Regions from separate parts of the Homo sapiens genome. Here region 2 is linked to region 1. The links are contacts of gene promoters, found by promoter capture Hi-C in blood cells and fetal thymus (Javierre and others, 2016). All regions are on one chromosome and are shown on one strand. The core of a region is centred on a gene start or on the middle of the fragment in contact, and the rest is flanking DNA. Distances in the headings are between cores, read along the strand shown. Region 1 holds the start of TSPEAR-AS2 (TSPEAR antisense RNA 2). Region 2 holds the start of KRTAP10-9 (keratin associated protein 10-9).

What was found. The method cuts DNA at HindIII sites, captures the fragments that hold promoters and counts their contacts. A CHiCAGO score of 5 or more calls a contact.
Region 2: the fragment with the promoter of KRTAP10-9 here is called in contact with the fragment with the promoter of TSPEAR-AS2 in region 1 in 6 of 17 cell types (naive CD8 T cells, naive CD4 T cells, total CD8 T cells and 3 more); the score reaches 7.8 in naive CD8 T cells.

What each region holds. Positions count from the first base shown.
Region 1 is chr21:44,514,856-44,518,979 of GRCh38, forward strand. TSPEAR-AS2 (TSPEAR antisense RNA 2) reads left to right here and starts at 2,360. Exons shown (of 2, transcript NR_026548.1): 1 at 2,360-2,980; 2 at 3,773-4,122. All of the region lies in intron 9 of TSPEAR (thrombospondin type laminin G domain and EAR repeats), which reads right to left. It overlaps TSPEAR-AS1 (TSPEAR antisense RNA 1), which reads left to right. Exons shown (of 7, transcript NR_103707.1): 7 at 642-1,720. The HindIII fragment of the contact is 11,587 bases long and covers 1-4,124 here.
Region 2 is chr21:44,624,654-44,628,880 of GRCh38, forward strand. It overlaps KRTAP10-9 (keratin associated protein 10-9), which reads left to right and starts at 2,440. Exons shown (of 1, transcript NM_198690.3): 1 at 2,440-3,725. The coding sequence starts at 2,519. The coding sequence ends at 3,397. The region is part of intron 1 of TSPEAR (thrombospondin type laminin G domain and EAR repeats); the gene reads right to left. RefSeq lists an enhancer at 1,365-2,060. The HindIII fragment of the contact is 20,057 bases long and covers 571-4,227 here.

The sequences.
Region 1 (4,124 bases), core at 1,110-3,609:
GGCAGCCAGCTCCTCACTCATATCTGCCCTGGGGCTGCAAAGTCCTGCCATGCCCACCGACCATTCCCTTGGAGCACTGTACTTAACCTGCAGTGCCCTGGGAATGCGCCCACCCTGTGTTTCTGGGAGAAAGTGAGGTCTGTGTGCACAGCTCCTCAAACCCCACCTGCACCCCACACCCCCGCAGACCCCTCCAGAAAGGGCGCCTCTCTATGGCACACACCCACTTTCAAAGCATCTCGGCTTCACCCGCTTCAAAGCTCACGTTCATGAAAGACATTGCAAAACTCAAACCAAACAGTAAACAAATTAAGACATCTCTAGGACCTAAAAGGATTTCAACACAATGTGAGAAATGTTGGCAAAACATGAAAGTGGGCTTTGTGAGTTTTGAGGAATTACTGAGTTTTGAAAGATGAGGCTCAGGCCAGGTGGAGAGGAAGCCCGTCCATGTGTGCGTGGTCCCAGCGCCTTCCCAGGGCCCTCCTAAGGCACCTTCAGGGCCTGGGCCATGATGGCGCCCCCAGCAGCCAGGTCCCCGTTCCCGGAGTTCTGGTTCTGCTTTGGGAGCTGCAGCCGTGCTTCCTTCTGTCTGCTGTGGTCCTGCTCTAGCCCCTGCTCTTCTCTGATGTTTCTTTCAGGCGGATGTCACCCACCCCTTGGGACTTCGCCATGGGTCGCTAGCCCAGACCCTCCCCTTGGTTCCGGTGGTTCCATTTCTGCCCCTTTGCTGCTGGCCCCCTTCTGAGGATGCCCGTGCATCTCCAGGACCACTGCTCCAGTCCTTGGTGTAGATCAAAGCTGGCCTTCACACGCGGCCTGAAAATGTAGAGTGGCCGCCTTCTGGGCTGGGCTGCCACCTCCACCACATCACCCGTGACAGAAGCCCCGTGTTTTTCGGTAACCACGTTCCACGAACACCTCCCGACTGCCTTCCAGAACACACAAAGATCAACGAAGCTCAGAATCCAGTCCCGACGTCATTTCATGAAGAGCAGGTAGTCCATCAAAGGGATGGGCCCCATGAGTGAAGGGCTGAGACCCCACCATGGTGTGAGGCGTCCCAGGCACTCCCGTCACGGCCCAAACCAGGCTGCAGGCTCCATCCCCATGGGGCAGGCACAGAGGAGGCGATTCATGTGGACACAGGGACACCTGTGGACGCCCTGGCTCGGCCGCTTACCGCCGTGTGTTTGTGGCCAGGTCCCTGCTCCTGAGCCTCAGTTTCCACACCTGTGAGATGGGTCTGAGGTGGAATCGCCAACCAGCTGAGGATGCGCAGCCACAGACCACCTTCCAGAAATCTCCAAAAGGCTTTCCAAAACAGGAAAACAAGGAAGGCTGCCATCAGCAGGAATTCCAGGGCTTTCAGAATGAGGCTGTCAGGAGTGAAGGGAGCTGTGCTCCACATGCAGGGCAGTGGCCAGGGCTGCCAGGCCTTGTTTATCTGGGAGCGCCAGGCTGCCTGCCTGCACCTGGTCTGGGCACCTGAAGGCAGAGCTGCTCCTGCTTAGGGTCTGTGGCAACTGTCCTCCTCAGTGGGTGCTGCTGGGAGCTCCTCTGATTCCTGGTGGGCGGCTTCTGGCCTCGCCTCTTCACCCACGGTGTAGGGTGTGGGATGGAGATGCAGGGCCTCTGCTCTCCTTCTCCCCTCCCCCAAGCAGCCTGGGTTGTACCTCCACTAATAAACACCAACACCCGCGCCCAGGGTGGGTTCGGCCACGGGGCGATTCTCTGAGTGACACATCAGGATCAGCTTCGTGTGGTCCTGACCTTACGGTAATGTCAGCCCCCAGAGCCAGGGGCCGGGCTATGGCACCACCCACCCAGGCGATTTCTATGTCGGGATGACCAACTGTGCCATCCCTGGGGCAGTCCCCCATGCCAGGCAAACATTCTCCTTTCATGCTTAAAATCACAGGACGGGTTCACCTGCTTCGTCCTTGGACCTGTGATCTATGTACGCTGCTTTTCAACAAGTTTCTAGTTGTCCCCTCCTGGGTATGGCCCTCCCCTCCTTCCTTCCCAGAGGAAGAAAACACACCAGCTCTGCATGCGAGAACGCTCCCAGCTCTCCCATCTTCCCATCGCAGGAGCCCCTCGCTCCTGCACCCTGGGGCTTTCGGTCCTGTCCCACCTCAGCGGCTGCTGCACAGGAAGGCCGTCCTGGCCTGGCCCCTGTGTCTCTGCCTTCCTCGACTCCTGCAGTCTGTGCTTCTGTCACTCCTTCAGCACGCCATCCCTGGACACACTTTGTGCTCCGTGGACTCCACAGCCCCCAAACCCCCTCTTATGCCCTCCCTGACCCCAGACCATCTGGGCTGGCTTCTCTCTAGGACACATACCAGTTCTCATTCCAGAACTTTCCTTATGGTCATCTTTGGGTGGAGCCACCACTTCCAGTTCTGATCTTCTCATTCTGGTTGAGTACCTGGGCTTGCCAGTGCACCCCCCAGGAACACCGCCTAGTCCAGGGCTCCCACAGGTCTCAGACTGACAGGAGACTGGGTCATATGACCAGCACTAGCCAATGAGCTGTGAGTACACGTGACACAGGGACAAGCTGGGTCATGTGACTGGCACTAGCCAATGAGCTGTGAGGACGTGAGCACAGGTCCAGCTAGGCTGGGTCATATGACAAGCATTAGCCAATGAGCTGTGAGGACACGTGAGTACAGGTCCAGCTAGGCTGGGACATGTGACTGGCACTGGCCCATGGGCTGTGAGCACAGGTCAGGTCAGCCCCTTCCTGCTGCTTCCCACCGTGTGTGCTCCTTGTCTGACTTGATATGAGAACTAACCCAATATGGCAGGAAGCCACTGACATGTGGGAGCCGTGCATGGCAGTGGCCAGCGTCCTTGTCCTGCGGGGGCTCTGTGGACATCACTCGCCTTCAGAACACTGAGCCCTCCTACCTCCTGATATCCAGGGCTGCCGATGGGAAATCCCAGGCTGCCGCGGCTCCTGTGTGCTTTGAAGGTAACTTTCCTTTGCTCTCGCGCTCCTTGGGCTCAGCGCCCTTTCAGTCTGATGAGATCTGGGCGGTTTTCTTCAAGCCTTCTCTGACAATTCCATCACTGTCCTCACCCTCTTCTTTTTTTTCTAGAACTTTGGTTAGCCAGATACAGACTCTCCTGGTTTGATTCTGTCTCTTTTCATTCTACATTCTAGAAGATACTCTTAACTTTATATTTCAGTCATGTTAATGAATGTCTTCTTTTAATGCCAGCAATTGCATTTTTAATGTCCAAGCTCTCTGTCTCATTAGTAGCATTTTTTATTTCGTAAGTGCAGTATCATCTTGAATACTTCTGAAGACAAGTATAACTTAAAAAAATTCCTTTCTGTTTCTAGAGCTAGCTCAGTTTCTTTCAGCCTTTTTCTTTAGCCTGACTCCTGCAGTTTTCAGGATTTTTGTCAAACATCCGGGGACCCTTAGCTGGAGAGGATGGCATGGGTGACACGCAGCTGGCCAGGTACGCTCTGGGGCACTGGGGCATCTTGAGCACCTTGGTGCAGTGTCGTGAAGAAGACACTGTAAATTGGACTTGGTGTTATCACAGGGGCTTTAGGATCACGGTGTTGGTAGATCTAGGATGATAATCTCCAAAACGCACTCCCCAACCCACTGCAGGGATCCTTTCTCTTGTCACCTCACTTTGTGATTTAGAATGCAGGACCTCCAGGACAGCAGCCTCTCCGTGGCACAACAGCTGTTAGGAGACCTTGCCTAGTTGACGAGAAAGTCACTTGTGGTGCCTTTCCATCCAGGGTGCGCGACTCTGCTCTCAAGACCCCCTGGAGGCCCGCCCCCTGCCCCCCACCAGCTCATTCGTTAGATGATTGGAAGTGACTGCCTACGTCTTCTTTCAGGATAAAGCCTCAAGTCCTGCAACTATTCCTTGTGTGATAACGTTTCAAATCCCTTCCTGGTTCTGGCAAAGCTCCTCAAACATGCTCCAGTGTGCTGGGGCTCTGCATGTGTGAGCCTGGGGCCAGCAGGGCGCACGTTCATGTCAGGGCACCAGTATGATCCTGATGACACATGACTGGTGTGGAGCCCCGGGTGTTTCCACGGGAACTGCTGTCGGCCGGATTGCTGTGCTCTGCAGCTGTGCCCAAG
Region 2 (4,227 bases), core at 1,190-3,689, 110 kb after region 1:
TCACTGTTTCCAACTGACAGTCTGTTGTTGTTGTTGTTTTACCAGAATCCCTCCTCCTTGTCAGGTCCTGAACTCTATGTTTTTGTCTTCCAATTGTATGAGACTACTAAAAGCTGTGCTCAGCCTCAGCCTCATGGCTGTAGTCTGTGAATCAGTAAATGCCTCAATAAGAAAATCCAGAAGAAATATTAGACTCACTTCTGTGCACTTTCCCTCTAATAGGGATTCACTCACTCAAGTCTCAGCTGTCTTGGTGACTCCTGGTGCCCTCAAATAGAGATTTTGTTTGTTAAACCAGGTTTCCTAACTTTTCTCAGCTAGATGGCCAGTCTGATGTCAGCCAATTCCCCACACACAAAAGCAGAACTTGACAGAGAGTTTTATACAGCATAAGAAAAAGGTAGCATAATGGAATCGTTTTCAGAGGTCAAAATTACTCTTCGATAATTTCTCCAAAAACATTTATTATTTCAGCCCATTTTTATGAAGGATCTTCCCTATTCCAGGCATTATTTTAGGCCCTCAGAGACTGAGTGGTGAACAAGACAACCACACTTCCTGCCCACATGAAGCTTACCTTTGAAGAATGGGAGCTGAGCACAGCAAAGAAAATGAGCATGAAAAGTTAGGAGACTTGGCACAGAAATACTGATGATGGGCCACGCACGGTGGCTTACGCCTGTAGTCCCAGCAATTTGGGAGGCCAAGGCAGGAGGATCACTTGAGCCCAGGAGTTCAAGACCAGCTGGGCAACATAGCAAGACTCTGGTCTCTACAAAAAAAATTTTTTTTTACAAAAAGAAATATTGATAATGGGACTTGAATTATCTATGATTGAAGCGTATCATAAAGCTATGGCCTGAAAGAGCAGAACCAAATCCATAGCCCAAAATGGACCAGTTCAAAACTTTTCTATCCTGTCTGAAACCCAGTCCTATCCCCAGCGTTCCCACATGCAAGTCTGAGTGGACCTCGGGGAAGGCCGCGGGGAGCGGCATGGCCTCTCTTTCCTTGCTCCCCTTCTCCCTGTTTTGGGCTCTAATTTCTTCAGTGATGGGGACGGGGGAAGGAATGTGCAGGGCCACCACTGTGGGGCTCACTGGCCACTGCTGCACCTTCTCTCCGGCTGCTCCAGTGATCCTGTGCTTCTACCAGCTGCTTCTGCCTCTTCAGTGAGGACCCACTTTAGAGACACCCCCAGGGACAGTAGCTGGAGGACTCTCTCCCTGGGACACCACACTTTGCGTAAGACTGAAGGGCCACCCCTGCCTCCACAGCCTCCTTCTTACAACCTGGGCAGCACTGGTGGGGTGTGGCAGCTGGCCATAGCTGGTCAACTTCTGTCTTATTTTAGAAACCCTGTGGGGACAGGTCTGACCCAGAATGTTAGCATTATTTTTAGAATGAGAGGCCGTTTCCAGCTTTGCCAGATTCACAGCAACAAAGACGTTCTACTCAACATCGTGTAATACGTCTTACTTTATAATGAAATATGCGTATGTGTACTTGAATTTTTAAATAAAAATGTGAAATCACAATCAATATTATAATTAGCTGCTGGGTAGCAATGTTCCTGGAAAGTGATCAGGGCCATTTTATAAGGCAAGAAGCTCGGGACTTCATCATGCCCTGTGGTGATAACAATTCATCATCAAAGATCATGCAGCCGTGAGAGTTGCCTGTGGCTGACCTGGGGGTGTGTGATGGGGCCTGTGGGCAGGGCTGGTGAGAAAAAGATGCTTGCAGTGCAGGGCACACGGAGGAGATGGCTCCAGCAGTGGCGAGGGCTGGCGGCTGCCTGCTGCCTAGCACAGCTACTTCACGGGTTCAGAACCCGAAACCACAGCCCACGATGCTGCCATTGTGCCTCAGCAAGGAGTGGGCTGAGCCCACGATCCCTGCCCTGGAACAGAGTCCTGCTGCCTCCCAAGCAAAGGACAGGGTGGGCAATGAACAGAGGGCAGGAGGCACAGAGGCCATGGGGATTAGAAATTGGCGAGTCCTGTGTCCTACAGCAGGGGAAGGACCATACTAGAGGAGGAGTTTGCACCACAGGAAATAATTCCTAAGGGCCGGCTTCCTGCAGAGGAAGCCCGTGTCCTGAGGCTGCTGGGGCCAGTGGCTGGACGATGCCCCAGCAACCAAAGATGGCCCCAGGCACATCCCACCCACATCCCACCCACCAGACGCCCACAGCCGTCCTTGCCTCCAGAACCCAGCTGGGATCAGGCCCACCCCAACTCCTGCCCCTGAGGTTCCACATGCAACAGACTATAGCCCAGGTGTGACAGGAGATTTGTGAGCTGGGCAATGTCACCAGCAAACAAACATCCCTAATCATGGCAGACGCCGCCTCTCAGCAACAAGGAAGGGGAAGCTGTGGGCCCTGGAACAACAAGGCCAGGAGGGGTATAAAAGCCTGAGAGCCCCAAGAACCTCACACACTCACAAACTCACTCACTGACACACTCACACACTCACTTACACCTCCCCCAGCTCACCTCCTCCCCACCCCAGCATGGCCGCGTCCACCATGTCCATCCGCTCCAGCGCTTACTCCGACTCCTGGCAGGTGGACGACTGCCCAGAGAGCTGCTGTGAGCCCCCCTGCTGCGCCACCAGCTGCTGCGCCCCGGCCCCCTGCCTGACCCTGGTCTGCACCCCAGTGAGCCGTGTATCCAGCCCCTGCTGCCAGGTGACCTGTGAGCCCAGCCCCTGCCAATCAGGCTGCACCAGCTCCTGCACGCCCTCGTGCTGCCAGCAGTCTAGCTGCCAGCCGGCTTACTGCACCTCCTCCCCCTGCCAGCAGGCCTGCTGCGTGCCCGTCTGCTGCAAGCCTGTGTGCTGCGTGCCCGTCTGCTGTGGGGCTTCTTCGTGCTGCCAACAGTCTAGCTACCAGCCAGCTTGCTGTGCCTCTTCCTCCTGCCAGCCGGCCTGCTGTGTGCCCGTCTGCTGCAAACCTGTGTGCTGTGCGCCCACCTGCTCTGAGGATTCCTATTCATGCTGCCAACAGTCTAGCTGCCAGCCAGCTTGCTGCACTTCCTCCCCCTGCCAGCAGTCCTACTGTGTGCCTGTCTGCTGTAAGCCTGTCTGCTGCAAACCCATCTGCTGTGTGCCTGTCTGCTCTGGGGCTTCCTCTTTGTGCTGCCAGCAGTCTGGCTGCCAGCCGGCTTGCTGCACCACCTCCTGCTGCAGACCCTCCTCCTCTGTGTCCCTCCTCTGCCGCCCTGTGTGCAGGCCCGCCTGCTGCGTGCCCGTCTCCTCCTGCTGTGCCCCCACCTCCTCCCGCCAGCCCAGCTATTGCCGCCAGGCCTCCTGTGTGTCCCTTCTCTGCCGCCCTGTGTGCTCCCGCCCGGCCTGCTACAGCTTCTCCTCAGGCCAGAAGTCCAGCTGCTGACGGTCATGTCCCCCAGGGCCAGCCGGGCTCAGGCCCCACCTCCCTGCCAGTCCTTGGACCTCCCAGCCCACCCAGCCTCAGCACAGCTCAACACAGAAGGAGCAGCCCCAGCCACAGCCGCCCAGCCCCGGGGTCTCAGATGCTCACTGGCTCCTCCCTGACCTCCCCCCCGGGCAGGCGAGCCCTGGCTTCTCCTCACGGTGCTTCCTGGCTGCAGACCACAACCCTCCGCTGGTCGCTGGTTGGGGACGGGCCCTCCTGACCCGGGTCTCACCCCCAGCAGCGTCACCCTCTGCCCCTGAGCACCAATAAAGCGTCTGCGGCCCCAGCTGACTCCGTGCTGACTCTCCGCACCCAGGGCGGGAGGGGGCAGAGTGGGGCCTGGCCTGGCTCTGGGGGGCTGGGCCCCGTGGATCTCTTTACTTCCCCAGCTGGGGGGCCTCGGGGGGCTCTTGTGTGACACCTGGAAGCTCCTGTCCACCTCGTGGCACGTTCTGCTGTCCGGCTCCCCTCCCAGGTCCTGTGGGGCCCAAAAGCCTTGTTCACTGGCTGAGTCCCACAGACACCACGTGACTCAGGCTAATGCCCCACTCACTGTGGGTAGAAGCAGCTCCTTCCCATGGCAAGGGTTGGGGCTGTCCCGGGGGGTGGCAGGCCCCAGCTGTGCTGGGAGGTGGGAGACGGGCGGTGGGGGGTGGGTGTGGAGACTTGGGCTCCAGCTGTCCCAGCACTCAGGAGTTCCACTCGGAGAGAGCTTGGCCATCCTGGCCTCCTGTGGACACTCACAGACGCTCAGGGATGGCCCCTGCTCCAGCCCTGGGCTTGCCGCT